Regions from separate parts of the Homo sapiens genome. Here all the other regions are linked to region 1. The links are contacts of gene promoters, found by promoter capture Hi-C in blood cells and fetal thymus (Javierre and others, 2016). All regions are on one chromosome and are shown on one strand. Each heading gives the region's core, a stretch centred on a gene start or on the middle of the fragment in contact. The rest is flanking DNA. Distances are from core to core; before and after follow the strand shown.

Region 1 (3,013 bases), core at 359-2,858:
TTGGCCAGGCTGGTCTCGAACTCCTGACCTCAGGTGATCCACTCGCCTTGGCCTCCCAAAGTGTTGGAATTATGGGCCTCAGCCACCGCACCTGGCCAAAAGCCACAATCTTACACAAAAAATACTTCCGCAAAAACATCTGCCCAGCAACTTCCTGTCCAGTTTCCGACTGGTGTCACCTTGTTATTGATCTTCGTAGCCAAGGATAACGGTTTAAAAACAATTATGTAATTCTCATTTTTTTTTAAATTTTAAAAACCTTTGCCTTCCTTTACCTCCTTGAATACGCACGTAGTTTACTAAGTCATGAGTATTTTCACACTTTATTCCCAAATAAATATATAAGAATCATAGAATGATAGAATTGAAAAGGATAAAATCACACAGTTGTTTCTAACTCCCACCCCTTAGAATGCGGCAAATGAAAAAAATTTTTTTTTTTGAGACAGGGTCTCTGTCTCACAGGCTGGAGTGTAGGGATCTCCGCTCCCTACAGCCTCAACCTCCCCAGCTCAAGCAATCCTCCCATGTCAGCCTCCCGAGTAGCTGGGACTACAGGCCTGCTGCCACCATGCCCAGCTAATTTTTTGTACTTTTTGTAGAGACGGGGTTTCGCTATCTTGCCCAGGCTGGTCTCTAACCTCAGGTTCAGCCTGATCCTCACCTCCAGGCTCAGGTGATCCGACCCCCTAGGCCTCCCAAGGTGCTGCGATGACAGGCATGAGCCACCGCGCCCGCCTATAATCAATTTTCAATATTCTAAAAAAGCCTACCAGAAATTGTATATTTTCTGGTGGTATTAAATGCTAGGTTTCCTTGTTTTGTGCTAGAATTATATCAGATCCACAATAAACCTAGGTTCCGACTGAGCTGGGTCTGATTGAGCAAAATCTGTTTTCCCATTATTGTTATGTTCAATTTGGCAAACAGCTTTTCAAAATATAGGAGTGAAGTCGTGGTCGAACTAATAAAATTGGTAACACTTGCTACAATGTTTGCAATTCGCAGAAAACTTCACTGACTTCATCTTAACTTATTCCTCACAAAGCTGTGGAATCACCATCAGTAGAGCAGGAGTCGTTGGCTCAATGCAGTGCTGTCTGCAACCGCTCGGAGCTTCTAGGTTCTTTCCGTGGGTCTCCAGCTTATGAGCACCTACATTCCGCGATTCGGAAGCACCTGCCTACCCCTCAGAAGAGAGAGACAGCTCCTTCTTCCCGTTCCGGAATGTGGTGCGTTCGCACGCATGCGTGACACGGCTACTCCGCGCTTGCGCCGATATTCTCCGCTTGGGGCGGATACCCTGGGTGACCCGTGAGCGTCCGCGCCCGGCGCGCGCCTGCGCAGTCGCTTTTCGAGAGTTTCCGCCCGCTACGTTCCCGTCTTTCAAACCACCCCACCACCTATACCATTCATTCCAGTCTCCTCAATTCTTTCACTGTATTAAGACGGCCTGCCCTCTGGCACGTTTTCTGGAACGAAAGCGGCTTGGGACAGACAGACTCCCTTCGCCAGGGAGCCCCGACCCCGAGGGCGCGCCCTGAGCGTCTGAGCGCAGCCCCGCTGCGTCCCCAGTTGTATCCCCCGCCACGCCCGCCTCTTCCGCCGCTCGCGCGCGCGCGCACGGCCGGCCACGGCGCGCCGGGGTTGGCTGCTACAGGGACCGCGGTGGCGGCGGCGGCCTCGACAGCGGTAGTGCCTTCTACTCCGCTTTTTTAGTTTCCTCCGCCCCCTCCCGTGGGACGCTGTTGTGTGGCTGCCTTAAAAAAAAACGCAACTTTATTGTTCCTCAGCCCCACCTCCGGCTCGGCGGGCGTCCTCAGGATGCACTGAGGCTGAGGGGAGGGGAGGCGGCGGAGGGTCGAGGTCGCGGTCCCTCTCCTCCGAGCGCCCGGCTGGAGGGGAGGGAGTCACGATGTCTGGTAGCCGCCAGGCCGGGTCGGGCTCCGCTGGGACAAGCCCCGGGTCCTCGGCGGCCTCCTCGGTGACTTCCGCCTCCTCGTCTTTATCCTCTTCCCCGTCGCCGCCTTCCGTGGCGGTTTCGGCGGCAGCGCTGGTGTCCGGCGGGGTGGCCCAGGCCGCCGGCTCGGGCGGCCTCGGGGGCCCGGTGCGGCCTGTGTTGGTGGCGCCCGCCGTATCGGGTAGCGGCGGCGGGGCGGTGTCCACGGGCCTGTCCCGGCACAGCTGCGCGGCCAGGCCCAGCGCCGGCGTAGGAGGCAGCAGCTCCAGCCTAGGCAGCGGCAGCAGGAAGCGACCTCTCCTCGCCCCCCTCTGCAACGGGCTCATCAACTCCTACGAGGACAAAAGCAACGACTTCGTATGGTGGGTTTGAAGAGCACTCCCTCCTTGTCCCTAAATTATGAGTTTCTGCCGCTTAGGCTTGGGGGCGGGGGGTCTGGTGTGGGGGTGGCTTGTTGGAGAGCTTGGGATACTGGTGCTGTGGTGGTGTCTGCAGAGGGAATCGAGCGTTTGCAGGCATTCGAGCTCCTGGTTGGTGGGGTGAAGGAATGTTGGAGTAGCGAGGCAGGGTGGGGATAATAAAGAGGTAGGTAAGTGTTGCTGAGGAGGAAGTGAAGGGAGTTTAACGAATGACGAGGGAAGAGGTGGAAGGTCAAATAAATGGTTTTGGATAACAAAGTTGGCAGAGAGGTTGAGTCTTAAAATTTTTGCCTCTCTGATGAATTGAACACTCAGTCAATCAGGAGTCCTTGTTGAGATGAATGAAATTTGCAAATGGAGAGGACTAAGCTTCCTCGGATGCAGAGGGGTGGAGTTGGTCAAAATTTATTTGAAGTATGGTAGATGATGCTGTAAACATAAGCATGGATGTCTTATAAAGACATGCTTTTTATAATAATGTAAGTACCTATCGTATGTATGTGTAAATATCTTCTTCCATTTCAAAGGATGGGCCACTTAGGAATCGGCTGTTGAGACGACTGTAGTCAAAGTCTGTTAACAGATTTTTCACTTCTCCACCAAGTGTCTTGAAAAGAGAGAACCACGTTTGTTA
Region 2 (3,013 bases), core at 230-2,729, 6.3 Mb after region 1:
GAGAAAGTTAGGGAGACATTTTTATGTAGCTAATATAAGATATAAGGAGCTATATAAGGAGTTAATCTCGTCTAGCAAAATGCAGTTAAGTATTGACATCATTCTGGAGGCTTCAGCTTCCTCCTTAGGGAAAAGATCCTTGTAGTTCATGCCTTATAATTGTTGCTCCAGGCAGAGGGTGCCAGTGCATTAGCATGCTGTCTGACACACTCAGGAGATCCTGGCCTCTTATCAGAAAAAATGATTTTACTGTGGAATGTAAGTCAATAAAATAACCCCAAGTGTCTTTTTGAATTAGGGAAAATGAAGGCATTAGTTGATGCTTCTTTGGATAGCTAGCACTTTGGAAATTTAGGAATTCAGATATATCATCTTCTAAAATGGAAAATGTAATTGTATTAGTAAATTAATTCTCCAGTGTTTATTCTGGTAGGCATGCTATTTTCAAGTTGAACTTGATATCTTGATTTTGTTAGAATTATAATCTCTATTACCTTGAGTCCCTTAGTTATCAACAGGTATGGAACATTGATGTCTGTTTCATAGGACTCTAAATTGTTTTTATTTTTTTAAAATGATTATAAAGGATTATATTAGTAATGGAATTTTGGTCTTCACAACAGTAATTTATTTGATGTTGTATTTTTGATCAAGCATGAAATTGTTATAAGATGGTTCCTAAAGAAAAAGATGGGTAACAGTTCTCTCGAGATGCGTGGTGGTAAAAAGTATATAGCTGGCTGTTTTCTTGCTAGGTAATTTTGCTTTTTGGTAGAACCACATTTTTGACTCTTTTTTTACATCATCTAGGTATTGTTAAGAATTTTTTATTGTGATTTTACAAAAGACAAAATGCCTTACTTCGCTTTCTTGTTCTTACAGTTAATGTCTAACATGCCTCCTGTTATTTTCATCTAATAAGATTGTGCATTTTTTTTAATAAACTATTATCGGCGAGGTACTAGAGACTTATCTTTCTTAGTATTTTTTTCTTTATAAGATTTTTTTAAAATTGTGTTACACTTTATGGTGCACGTACCAAGAAAATTGAATAACCTAGATCGAGTTTTTAAAGGAAAAAACAGCAAGACCACTCTCCATTTTTGAGGACTTCTGTGCTGAAGGAATTGCGAAGCTTGAGAGGGAAGACTTATTCCCCCTTAATATTCATAGATACCCTTTTAAGCCATGTCTGAGTCTTTGCACATAGTTCATCTTTGTCTCTTGTTAAGCCATTCTGTGGCTTTGAAAACCTCATATATGAATTTGGGAAATTTGAAATTGCAACAAAGTGATAACTTTAGATTCTCAGAATGTTTCTCATAATCTTAAAAAACTAGGTCATAGCACTTGAGAAATGTATGGCATTCGATGTGCTAGATTTTAGGAATTTGATGTCCTAGGTATCTGAAATACTAAAACAATATATTTAGCTTGCCTCACTTTCTCTAGAGTTTGGGTTGTTGGTCACACCTTTGGTAGTTTTAACGATTATTTCAAGCAGATATATAGTGTTTTCTGTTACTGGATAACAATATACACTTTCTTCACTGTTACAAGTAAAAAACAACAATCCTAGTATACACCAAGATGAAATGCAGGTATAAGCTCTGGCCACAAAATAATGTGAGAAATACTTAGTTCTATCTGACCATCTCATTTTACATTGAATTCATCAGCTATAATTAACAGTATAATTTGCTAACTGATGATGATGACTCATATATGTAAGCCTATAAACAGTGATAAATTCTAAGCCCGAATTTGGTTGCTGTAGTTTGCTGTAATCTAAGTGTTTAGTTAGGGCTTTGTGGTAAGCTTATTAAAGCTTATAAAAATGATTCTTGAGTGTCTTTATGCCAGGAATCACATTGGACTCTAAGAGTGGTATGTAGATGCTATATAAGTGCTCTATTTAGTATTGTTGGAGTCATTATGCTCTTCCCCATAATGAATTTGGGCTGTTGTGGAAGGGTTAGTCAATGTTATTTAAGAATGCACATTGTGTGGGCATAACAAGAAATGGAAGAGATGATGGCTATGCCCAAAAGAGCTTGCATTCTAATTGGAGAAAGCTGTTCTCCTCTCTCATACTGACTTTTTTTTTTGAGATGTAGTCTCACTCTGTTTCCCAGGCTAGAGTGCAGTGGTTCGATCTTGGCTCACTGCAACCTCTGCCTCCCGGGTTGAAGTGATTCTCCTGCCTCAGCATCCCACGTAGCTGGGATTACAGGCACGCGCCGACACACCCAGCTCATTTTTGAATTTTTAGTAGAGGTGGGGTTTCACCATGTTGGCCAGGATAGCCTCTACCTCTCGACCTCGTGATCCGCCTTCCTCAGCCTCTCAAAGTGCTGGGATTACAGGCATGAGCCACCGTACCTGGCCCATGGTTGACTTTTTAAGAAATTATTTTTTGCCCTTCATAATCAGAATCCAGTGCTCTTACGTGGCTTCTGGGCACTATCCACTCAGAAGAACTTCAGAAGTATCCCCCATGCCTCAGGTATGATGGACCCACCAGATGGAATGGCCAGCTACTTGCTCCCCACCACACCTTGCAGACTTCACGCTCTCCTTTTTCCTTGGATGTTAATAACCATCCAACCTGCCATTCTAAACTAATTATCTGCCAAAATCTCTAGTCTGAGCTCCAGATCTATATTTTCACTTACCTATTGAACATTTCCACCTAAAAGTTTTATCAGTACCTCAAATGCAAGCTCTACAGAATGGAATTTTTATTCCTTTCTCTTTCTGCATTTTATTGTTAGTTTATGATCTAACCTTCAGATAGTGGACATTTACAAAAAAAAAAGCATCTGCATTTTGTCTTAGATTTACATCTTCAGAGAAAAAGGAATAATATTTTTCCCTGAAGATCTTTGTTCTCTAGTTTAGGCATCTTGGTTATTTTGTTTACTTAACATATTTAACAGCGTGAAATTATGGCTTTGTCTCATCTAAAAGCCTGCAGGTGGATTTGGGCTGTAATGCTGAGTCAGTTAACTTT
Region 3 (3,013 bases), core at 240-2,739, 6.1 Mb after region 1:
TGTCCACTGTGTTATAATGAAGCACAAAAGCCCTCACTGGAAGCCAGAGTCATGCCCTTGAACTTCCCAGCCTGCGGAACTGTAAGCTAAATAAACCCCTTTTCCTTATAAATTACCTAGTCTCAGGTATTGTGTTATAGCAACATAAAATTGACTAATTCAGTATTCCATTTTATGGATATACCACATTTTGTTTGTTTATTGCTCATCTGGTGGTGGACATTTGGGTTGTTTCTACCTATTGGCTATTGGGAATAAAGCTGCTGTGAACATTACTGTACAAGTTTTTGTTTGAACACTTGTTTTGTATCTTTTGGTGTATACCTAGGCCTGGAATTGCCAGACCATATGGTAATTCTATGTTTAATTCATTGAGGAACCACTAAAGTGTTTTCCCTAGTGACTGCACCATTTTACATTCCCACCAGCAATGTATAAGAATTCAGTTTTCCGTATCCTCACTAACACCTGTTATTTTCTGTTCTGTAATTATTACTATACTAGTGGATATCAAATGGTATCTTATTTTGGTATTGATTTGCCTTTCCCTAATTACTAATGACATTGAGCTTTTCATGTGCTTCTTGGCCATTTGTCTTTATTCTTTGGGAAAAGGAGTTCTTTGTAATAGAACCTTGTCAGATACATGATTTACAGATACTTTGTCCCATTCTGTGGGTTTTCTTTGCACTATCTTGGTATGTAAAACTTTCATATGCAAACATTTTTAATTTTGGTGAAGTCTAATTTATTCTTTTGTTGCTCATGCTTTTGGCATCGTTATTTAAGAAACCACTGCTAAATCCAAGGTCATGAAGGTTTGTCCCTCTGTTTTCTTCTAAGAGTTTTACAGTTTTAGCTTTTACATTTAATATCCTTGATCCATCTCGAGTTAGTTATTGTCTATGGTATATGGCAAGGGTCCATCTTCATTCTTTTATATGTGACTATCTAGTTGTTCTGACATCATTTGTCAGAACAAATGTCAGAAAAGAACAATTGACTGTTCTTTTCCTCCATGAATGGTTTGGGCAATTTTTTTGAAAATTAAATGACCAAAAATGTTGGGGTTTATTCCTGCACTCTCAATTATATTTCATTGATCTATCTGTCCGTGTGCTAGTACCTCACTGTTTTGATTACTGAAGCTTTGTAGTGAGTTTTGAAATCCAGAAGTGTGAGTCCTCCAACTTTGTTGTTCTTTTTCAAGGTTGTTTCAGCTATTTAGGGTTCCTTATATTTCCATTTGAATTTTAGGGTTGGCTTTTTCATTTCTGCAAAAAAAGCTATTGAAACTTTGGGAATATAATGAATCTATAGATCACTTTGGGGAATATTGCCATCTTAACAATATTAAGTCCTTCAGTCCATGAACATGTGATTTCTTTTCATTTAGTTCATATTAATTTCTTTCAGCAACTTTTTGTTTTCAGTATACAGTTGTTCCTTGGTTACGTTTACTCCTGAGTATTTTATTCTTTTTGATGCTATTGGAAATGAAGTTTTCTAAATTTCCTTTTCATATTTTTCAGCTCCAATATGTAGAAAAACAGTGGATTTTTTTGGTGTGTTCTGATCTATTCTCCAACTTTGCTGAATTTATTAGCTCTAGCCAGTTTTTTGTGCCATTTTTAGAATTTTCTATATATAAGATTATGTCTTCTGCAGATAGAAATAATTTTACTTCTTCTTTTTCAATCTGGATGCCTTTTTATTTTTTTTTCCCATGCCTCATTGCTCTGGCTAGAATTTCCAGTACTATGTTGAATAGAAGTCAGGAAAGTGGATAAACATTCTTGTCTTGTTCCTGATCTTAGGGGGAAAGCTTTCATTCTTTCACCATTGAGTATGATATTGGCTGTAGATTTTTCATATATGCCCTTTATTATGTTAAGGGACTTTTCTTCTATTCCTAATTTATCAAGTACTTTTATCATGAAAAGATGTTGGGTTTTGTCAGATGCTTTTTTCTGCATCGATTGAGATAATCATGTACTTTTTTTCTTCATTCCATTAATGTGGTGTATTGTATTGAAATGCCCATGTGGCCATGTTGCGTGGTCCTTTTAATATACTCCTGTATTCTGTTTGCTAGTATTTTGAGGATTTTCACATCGACATTCATAAAGGGTATTGGTCTAAAGGTTTTCCTGTAGTGTCTTTGTCTTGCTTTGGTATCAGGGTAATGGTGGCCTCATGGAATGAATTAGGAAGTGTTTCCTCTACTGTTATATCTTTTGGAAGAGTTTGAGGGGTATTTATGTTAATTTGTCTTTAAATGCTTGGTAGAATTCACCAGTGAAGCCATCTGGTACTGGACTTGTTGAAAGGTTTATGATTACTGATTCAATCACCTTACTTCTAATTCTGTTCAGATTTTCTGTGTCTTTTGAGTCAGTTTTGGTAGTTTGTGTGTTTCTAGGAATTATTCTTTTTCATGTAGGTTATCCAATTTGTTGGTGTTCATATTATTCTCTTGTAATTTTTTAATCATCAAAAGAGCAGCAGTAATGTCCCACTTTCATTTCTGATTTTAGTAATTTGAGTCTCTTCTTTTCTTTTTTAGTCAGTCTAACTAAAAGTTTTCCAAAAATGTTTGTTGATCTTTTCAAAGAACTAACCTTTGGTTTCATTTTCTCTATTCTTTTTCTAGTCTCTGTTGCTGCTTTTTATTATTTCCTTCTGCTAGCTTGGGGTTTTGTTTGCTCTTCTTTTTCTAGCCCCTTAAGGTGTAAAATTAGGTTATTAATTCAAAATCTTTTATTTATTTTTTTAAATAGAGCGTCAGTATAGAGTGTCTTATTGTGGATCTGTTTGAGTTTATCTTTGAATTTCATTGAGCTTCTTGGATGTGTAAGTTTGTCTTTGGTCTAATTTGGGAAGTTTTTGACTGTTTTTTCTCCCAGTATTCTCTATGTTTCTTTCTTCCTCTCCTTTCATACCCTCATTATGCATATGTTGGTATACTAGATGGTGTTCCATAAGTCTCTTAGGTTCTGTTTATTTTTCTTCA

What was found. The method cuts DNA at HindIII sites, captures the fragments that hold promoters and counts their contacts. A CHiCAGO score of 5 or more calls a contact.
Region 2: a fragment that was not itself captured here is called in contact with the fragment with the promoter of COP1 in region 1 in 1 of 17 cell types (naive B cells); the score reaches 6.0 in naive B cells.
Region 3: a contact is called between a fragment that was not itself captured here and the fragment with the promoter of COP1 in region 1, in 1 of 17 cell types (non-activated CD4 T cells). The highest score is 7.1, in non-activated CD4 T cells.

Annotation. Positions count from the first base shown.
Region 1 is chr1:176,205,881-176,208,893 of GRCh38, reverse strand. It overlaps COP1 (COP1 E3 ubiquitin ligase), which reads left to right and starts at 1,608. Exons shown (of 20, transcript NM_022457.7): 1 at 1,608-2,322. The coding sequence starts at 1,916. COP1-DT (COP1 divergent transcript) reads right to left here and starts at 1,229. Exons shown (of 5, transcript NR_185981.1): 1 at 1,023-1,229. RefSeq lists an enhancer at 1,001-1,070 and silencers at 1,571-1,780, 1,811-2,170. The HindIII fragment of the contact is 7,879 bases long and covers 1-2,750 here.
Region 2 is chr1:169,885,406-169,888,418 of GRCh38, reverse strand. All of the region lies in intron 2 of SCYL3 (SCY1 like pseudokinase 3), which reads left to right. Among named protein-coding and RNA genes, the nearest start is that of SCYL3, 7.0 kb to the left of the region's middle. The HindIII fragment of the contact is 683 bases long and covers 1,138-1,820 here.
Region 3 is chr1:170,068,545-170,071,557 of GRCh38, reverse strand. The region is part of intron 1 of KIFAP3 (kinesin associated protein 3); the gene reads left to right. Among named protein-coding and RNA genes, the nearest start is that of KIFAP3, 4.6 kb to the left of the region's middle. The HindIII fragment of the contact is 677 bases long and covers 1,151-1,827 here.